Regions from separate parts of the Homo sapiens genome. Here region 1 is linked to region 2. The links are contacts of gene promoters, found by promoter capture Hi-C in blood cells and fetal thymus (Javierre and others, 2016). All regions are on one chromosome and are shown on one strand. The core of a region is centred on a gene start or on the middle of the fragment in contact, and the rest is flanking DNA. Distances in the headings are between cores, read along the strand shown. Region 1 overlaps SIGLECL1 (SIGLEC family like 1). Region 2 holds the start of KLK9 (kallikrein related peptidase 9).

What was found. The method cuts DNA at HindIII sites, captures the fragments that hold promoters and counts their contacts. A CHiCAGO score of 5 or more calls a contact.
Region 1: a contact is called between a fragment that was not itself captured here and the fragment with the promoter of KLK9 in region 2, in 1 of 17 cell types (naive CD4 T cells). The highest score is 5.5, in naive CD4 T cells.

The regions. Positions count from the first base shown.
Region 1 is chr19:51,256,338-51,260,407 of GRCh38, reverse strand. The region is part of intron 1 of SIGLECL1 (SIGLEC family like 1); the gene reads right to left. The region is part of intron 2 of LOC107985327 (a long non-coding RNA gene); the gene reads left to right. Among named protein-coding and RNA genes, the nearest start is that of SIGLECL1, 7.3 kb to the right of the region's middle. The HindIII fragment of the contact is 1,490 bases long and covers 917-2,406 here.
Region 2 is chr19:51,007,228-51,011,324 of GRCh38, reverse strand. It overlaps KLK9 (kallikrein related peptidase 9), which reads left to right and starts at 1,733. Exons shown (of 5, transcript NM_012315.2): 1 at 1,733-1,820; 2 at 1,986-2,142. The coding sequence starts at 1,778. RefSeq lists an enhancer at 1,350-1,850. The HindIII fragment of the contact is 11,592 bases long and covers 1-4,097 here.

The DNA.
Region 1 (4,070 bases), core at 412-2,911, 250 kb before region 2:
GACCATTCTTACAAATAAAATATTGAATGAACAAAGCCAGACACAAATAAGTAATAATGTATGAGCATTTCTTTAAAATTTGAAAAAAACCGGGCAAAATCAAGTGTTTAAGAACGCACACACAAGTAGTAAAAATCCTTTAAAAGTTGCCAAGAAATGTCCAGCATAAAAGGTAGGATATTAATTGCCTTTTTGGGAGGAAGAGGTCTGTTTCTCTGTTTATTTTATCATTTGTAGGGGGTATGAACAGGTCTTTTGAGATACTGGCTATAGTGAATTCCATAAGGCTGTACCCTATATAGGCATCCTTTTAATAGTACAGTTTCCCATTGCCCATCTGCCTGACCATATGGCCAGGCCATTGGCCACTGCCCATGAATTGGTAAAAACCCAAATGTGGAGGCAGTTCAGCCCACTGAAGTGACTTGTTTTTGCCTTCCTCAGTATGAGTGCCAGTCTTCCAAACAGGATGTTATTAATTCACTTTGGAATTGCCATCCATAAATCAAACCGCTCTTAGTTGGTCAATCAAGAGCTATTAATAGACATCATTCAAGTAATAATAGGATCTCGCAGCTCTTCAGTAGGGAAAAAGCCACCTGTTCATAAATATAACGAGGACCTCCTTGCATTTCCCTGGTAGCATGTTCCTGTATAAACAATTTCCATTTTATTACGAGACTCTTTTGGGCATGGCCTTCCTTACTACAGTGTTTTTCCAACATGACAAACACATCATGAGGATTTCAGGTGTCAGGATTATTATATCCTTCAATGATGGGGCAGACTCAAAGCCCAATAGGCAGCTAGTTGTCTCTCCATTGGAAATTTTCTGGCCCCAAATCCCAGCATTCACCACTGGGTGGTGCTCACTGGCCTTAGCTCCAGTCTGCCTAAATAAAGCAAACGTTAAGCTTCTAACATGTTTTGTCCACCAGATATCCTGTACTGTTTCAAATTAACAATTAGTGTGGGCTTGGGCAATCTTATTGGTTCCTATTTAGCATATTCAATCAATATTGGTTGAAGGGAAGATTTACATGCCTTCTGTTTCATAATAGTACGTAGGGGAACTCTTCCATAGTTGGACACAATATCTTTCCTCATAATACATTTAGGTAAATACATTCACATAACATATTTACATAGTCTGTCCAAACATTCCAATTTTCATCCAAAGTTTCGCCTGAATCTCATCCACTTTGTAATCCTATGTCTTCGCAATCTAACCATAGATGCTATTAGAATTTCACCAACCTTTTGGAATGCAGGTATAAGACTCCCACATGAGTCCCAGAAATATCTCTTATCCATCCCCTGACTATTTTACTACTAATATGCATATGACTTTGGGTCTTCAGTTAGGGGTCAGGCCAAGCAACCCAGGCCCTTTTGTCATTTATCTTGATTAGATCACATGTTCGTCCCCTCAGGAGATCTGAGGTCAGATTTCCCATTGTCATGTTTGCCTTCTGGCTTCTAAAATTCCTCCAAACTAGGGTAAATATAGCAGACTTGATGGGGGACCTTCAACACTGGAGGGCAAGTCTAGGTTCTCACTGCTCCACCTAATTTCTAAGAGTGCTCCACTGAGACCTTTGTTTAGACTCCCTCAATGTCCACTTAACTCATCTCATTTCTTAATAACTGTTTATAAAGATTTCCACCCTCTTGGAAATGTTCGTCTTTTCTCACTCTCTGGTGAACCACTCTAATTTTCTTTGCCATCTGTCATTTCAGCCTAACTTTTCCCTTTAGCCACAGCCCTGAGGCTAGCAGCTGTAGCTCAGGCTGGCCAGAGCCCAAGATTGGGCCAGCATCAGGATCCGCCTCAGCCACTTTCATTTTAACGATTACAGATAAAAATAGCCAAGGGACTGCCTATTTAGTTTGTTTCCTTATGCATCCAGTGGGTCAGCTCCTTGGGGGTTGGATCCATTGTATTGAAAAAGCAATGGTAACTTTTACCTCCTGTAACTGTTTGCAGAACAGCTGCATTTCTATACGCACAGGTGACCGCAGGACAGCCCAGGAATCAAAGGCTTATCATCTTGACTTCACATCCTTCCTCTTTTCAAACCATATGTTTCAGTGAGTCAGGGCTGTTCTAGTGAATCCCATTTCTGATACAACTGAAAAGTTAGGGAATGGTCCACAAGATCCCCTCATTTCTGACACCAACTGAAGATATCAAGGATCCCTGATTACCCTCATTTCTCAAATCATTTGCAAGGTTTTGGAACCCCAAAACTACCCTTAGGTTTGGTAATTCACTAGAAGTACTCACAGAATTCACTGAAAGCTGTTATACTCGTGATTACTGTTTACTACAACTAAAGGATAGAGATTAAAATCAGCCAAGGGAAGACATACAGGGCAGAGGCCAGAAGTTCCCCACACAAAGCTTCTAGTTATCCTCTCCCTGTGGAGTCATGGACAGCATAACTTAGCTTTCCTGGTGATAATGTGTGACAATATGCATAGTACTGTCAACTAAAGAAGCTCACCCAAGCCTTGTGTCCAGTGTTTTTATTGGGCCTCCATCGTGTAACATGGTGACTTCCCTCATGGTGGATCTTAGCATCCAGCTCCTCCTGAAGTTGAGCTGATACCATTTGATCCAAAGCCCCTATTCTAAATCACATTGTTAGACTATCTGGTATTGCTTCCACTCTAAATCACATTGTTAACATTATCTGGTGTGGCCAGCCCTCATCCTAAATCACATTTCTAGAATATTCAGTGTGATGCAAGGTCCCTGGGCAAACAAAGACACCCCTATGAGGTGTGACATTCTAAGAGCTAGGGAGTGTCTTCCAGAAGCCAAGGGCAAAGGCCAGACTTCTCTTCAGGCAAGGTTAAGTTCCTTAGTACACAGAATAAAATGTCAAATTCAGAATAGCAGCGATCTCTATGTTTGAGAGTGGGAGATGTGTTTGGGGAAGGGAGTATACCAGGGGTAGTGTTTTCTTTCTTTTCTTTTCTTTTTTTTTTTTTTGAGACAGTTTCTTGCTCTGTCACCCAGACTGGATGGAGTGCAACGGAGCATTCACAGTTCACTGCAGGCTTGACCTCCCAGGCTCAAGCAATCTTCCCACCTCAGCCTCCCAAGTAGCTGGGACTACAAGCATGTGCCACCATGCCTGACTAATTTTTTAATTTATGTAGAGATGGGATCTTGTTATGTTGCCCAGGCTGGTCTTGAACTCCTAGGCTCAAGCCGTCCTCCCACCTGGGCTTCCTAAAGTGCTAGGATTACAGGTGTGAGCTACCGTGCCCAGCCAGTGTTTTCAATATTAAGCTGGTGGTGGGTATATGCTCATTATACCATATTTATATCTTTCTATATGTCTGAAATATTTCACAATCTTTAAATGAAAACTGGATCATTTGTCATTTATATAAAAGCTTTATATATATAATATGTAAATATGTATCTACATATTCATATATAATACACTCAAAACTATACATACATGAATGAGTAAAACAAAGATCTAGAATGATGTATAATTTGATACCAGTGCTTACCTATGGTTAGAGCAGTGATCAGAGATGAGATTATAGAATTTTCAGTTTTTTAATTCCAGGTTTATTGAGGTATAACTGACAAATAAAAATTGTATATACTTAAGGTGTACGACATGACGTTTTGATGTATGTATGCACTGTGGAATGATTACCACAATCCAGTGAATTAACATAATCAGCACTTCACAGTTACCATTTTTTTGGTGGTGAGAACACTTAATATTTACTGTCACAAAATTTCAAGTATACAGTACAGTGTTATTTACCATAGTCACCATGGTGCACATGAAACCTCCAGAACTTATTCATTCTGCCTAGCTGAAACTTTGTGCCCCTTGATCAATATCTCATTTCCCTTAGCCCTCAGCCCTGGCAACCACCATTCTATACTTTGCTTCCATGCGTTTGACTTTCTTAGATTCTACATATAAGTGAGATCATGCAGTACTTGTCTTTCTGTGTCTGACTTGTTTCACATAGCATAATGTCTTTCAGGTTTATTTACGTTGCTGCAAATGGCAAGATGTCCTTTTTTAAGG
Region 2 (4,097 bases), core at 484-2,983:
GTGCGGTGGCTCACGCCTGTAATCCCAGCACTTTGGGAGGCTGAGGCAGGCGGATCACGAAGTCAAGAGTTGGAGACCAGACTGGCCAACATGGTGAAACCCCGTCTCTACTAAAAGTACAGAAATTAGCCAGGTGTCTTGGCGCACGCCTTTAGTCCCAGCTACTTGGGAGGTCGAGGCAGGAGAATTGCTTGAACCCAGGAGGCAGAGGTTGCAGTGAGCTGAGATCGCGCCACTGTACTTCAGCCTGGGTGTCAGAGCAATACTCCGTTTTGGAAAACAAACAAACAAACAAACAAACAAAAAACAGATGGAGCAACTGAGAGAGGTCTTGTGACTTGCCCAAAGTCACACACCTCATCACTAATCACACCTAATCATTGAGATTTGGACACACATGGTTCAGTTCCAGAGTCCATGCTCCAAACCATGACGACACAGTGAGAGAACATTCAAGGGGAGCCCAGACCCAGCTTCATAACCAGGCCTGTGAGCAGGAGAAAGTGGAAGGGATCGTAAGTGCCCAGGGGAGGCAAAGATGGACTCTGCCTGAGGATCTCAGAGATTTCCTGGAGGAGGGAGAATTGAGGTTGGGTGTTGAAGGATGAGTGGGAGTTCACCAGGAAAAGAAGGATATGGAGAAAGACATTCACTCATTCAATGAACATCTCCTGAGGACTTCTGCAAGCCCTGTTCCGCCTGGAACGGGGTGATGCTGGGACACAGAGATGAGTCAGACCTGGGCCCAGCCCTCCAGAAGCTGTCCACCTGGTGAGAAGGAATGATGAGGAGAGAGGCAGGGAGGATGGGGTGATGGAAGGGACAATGGGGTGGGGGGCAGGGAGATGGATGAAAAAAATATATAGCAAATGTTCTCAGGATTTGGCAAAGATCAGGATGTATTAAGAGAGAGCACAGGGCACTTGCTACCTGGAAGGTTGGGCACCTGGGTCCTTGGGTGGTGGAGCCGTGGGGAAGGGGGCAGGTTATGACAAGAGTGGGTTAATCCAGATGGAACCAGATTTCTCAACATTCTAGGAGAGGGCCTTGTCCTTGTGGGAAGAGGCCCAAATCCCCAGGGCAGGGAAGGTTCTGCAAGGTGTGTAAACCTGTGCAGCTGCCTGTGGTCTCTGCCTCACTCCACCTGGATTTCCCTCAATCTTTCCCGTGTTCTGTCTCCTCCTCCCACTCCTCCTCTCATCTTGGGTCCTTCTGTGCCTGTACCTCCCTCTCTTTGTATCTTTTGCTCTTGTGTCTGAGTCCTGACTCTGTCTTCCACCCCTCGCCTCCTTTCTGGGTGGTCCCCCTGCACATCCCTCCAGCCTGCCGTGGGAGGTTGGTCTCTGCACACCACTGCTTTATCCAAAATAAACCTGCTGCACCCCAGGACCTTAGGCTTCAAGGATCTCCCTCCTTTTCCAGGACACAAAAGATTCTGTATCTTGTAGCCTAAGGTGATGAGGAATGAGGTCTCCCACTCTGAAGACCCCAGAGGAGGTGCCCACAACCTCTCCACACCCCCAGCACTCCTCCTCCATTCAGTCAAGCTCTGGCCCAGCAAGCCGCCAGTTCATCCCAAAAGGGGGGTCCCCCTGCACTTACCTCCTCTCCCAAGGCCCCTGTCACAGCCCCAGGGCTTCCCCCTCCCCCAGGTACATTTCCCAACCCCGATTAATCACAGGGGCGGCCCCATGGAGGAGGAAGGAGATGGCATGGCTTACCATAAAGAAGCACTGGACGCCGGGTGCACGTTCCAGGATCCAGGTGCCCAGGGGTCATGAAGCTGGGACTCCTCTGTGCTCTGCTCTCTCTGCTGGCAGGTGAGGCTCCCAGGCTGGCTGCCCCTTCACGGCTGTACTAAGGTCACCTTGCTCTTCCCTCCCATCCCAGGCTTCTGCCTCCTGCCCTCTAGGCTTCTCAGCATCCTCTCCCTGCCCTCCCAGCCTGCTCTTCGCTGACCCCTTTGTCCCTCATCCCCACCCCAGGGCATGGCTGGGCAGACACCCGTGCCATCGGGGCCGAGGAATGTCGCCCCAACTCCCAGCCTTGGCAGGCCGGCCTCTTCCACCTTACTCGGCTCTTCTGTGGGGCGACCCTCATCAGTGACCGCTGGCTGCTCACAGCTGCCCACTGCCGCAAGCCGTGAGTGACCCAGGCTGGCCATGCTGGGGAGGGACAGAGGCTGGGGGTCAGGAGAGGGTGAGGGGTGCTTTAGGCCAGAAGTGCGGAGCCTCCACTTCTGATACCACAAGTTCAACTCTTAGAAGTAGGAAGGGTAGCCTCCCAAATCCTAAAATTCTAGAGACCAGCAATATCTCATTTGAGAAGTCTAAGATTCGAAACTTAGGCTCTTCGAATCCGAGACTGACCCAGAGAAATCCAGAATCGTAGAATCCTAAAATCTTGAATTTATGAAATTCTGCAATAGCCTCAGCAAATTTTAGAATCATAGATTCGCAGACTATTAGAATCTTAGCAGTCTGGGTCAGCACTGCCCAGAGGAATTATGATGCCAGCCACATGTGTAAGTTTAAATTTCTGGTGGACACATTTAAAAAATAAGGAATGAGTAAAATTAATTCTAATAGATTTAACTTGACATACCCAAAAACTTATTTTGACATGTAATCAATTTTTAAATACGTATGAACGATACAGTTTACTTTTGTTTTGGTACTAAGCCTTTGAAATCTGTTCTGTATTTTACACACATAGCCTGTTACAAAATGGACTAGCCACATTTCAAGTGTTCAATAGCCATAATGGCTAGTGTGATCCTAGAATCTTAAATTCAGAGCTTTCTAGATTCATTGAATATTGAAACTCACAGTACTAGAATCTTTGATTCACAGTATCCTAGAATATTGAGATTCAGATAATTCTGTAGTCTTAAACTATTTGAATCCCAGACTCTTAAATTTCTAAGGTTATAGATTTATAGAATGATGACATTCTAGTCTTTCTTTTTTTTTTTTTTTTTTTTTTTTGAGACAGAGTCTCCCTCTATCTCCCAGGCTGGAGTGCAGTGGCACAATCTCAGCTCACTGCAACCTCTGCCTCTCGGGTTCAAGCAATTCTCCTGCCTCAGCCTCCTGAGTAGCTGGGATTACAGGTATGCACCACCATGCCAGGCTATTTTTTTTTTTTTTTTTTTTTTAGTAGAGACGGGGGTTTCACCATATTGGCCAGGCTGGTCTTGAACTCCTGACCTTGTGATCTGCCCGCCTCGGCCTCCCAAAGTGCTGGGATTACAGGCGTGAGCCACCGCGCCCAGCCAAAATTCTAGTCTTTTTGTCCTAGAACATTAAAATTCTATGTTCAAATCTTAGATTTAATTCAGATAATGTTAGAATCCTGGAGTTTTTTTGATCCAGGGGAATCTGGAATGTTAGAATCTTGGATTCATAAAACTCTAAACCTTGAGCCTCTAGATTCTAGAATCATGGATAATAGTGTGTCGGAATCTGAGAATTCTAGAATCTTAGGTTCTGGGCATTCTAATAGTATCCTGGAATCCACCTGATGCAGGAATCCTCTCTCCATTGCCTCTGAAAAGTGACCATCCATACTGTTCCAATTTTCTTCCCTCCATGAGTAAAGCACTGATTGTGGTAAGAGATGCTGTGTGGGAATTTCCCATCATGCATTGCTCCATGATGGAACCTCCTTTAACTTAAGCCTATACATCAGACTGGGAGAACGATGTTCAGATTTCAGCCGAAAGTGAAGCAGGAGAAATGCAGAGATATGAAGGTGGAAGAGAGTGAGAGGCAGGGGAAGGGTAGGGGGATGAAGGGATGTAGGGGTGAGGACTACTTTTCCAGATCCAGAGCCAAGACAGCAAGAATGACAGAGAGAGACAGACACAGATGTTTCTGGTTCCCCAACCCTGAATTCGCAGTCATTAGCCTGCTGCCTAATGTCAGAGGTCAGAGGCTGGGGAATGGACTTGTCATCCCCGAAAGGATCCCAGCTGTCTAGGGCATGGACCAGAAATGAAACAAGTGCGCTGAGACTGTGGTGAGGGCTTAAGGTTAGACACCAGGAAGACATGCATTGAAGGGTGAAGGATATGATAGACAGGAAAAGCTGAGGCC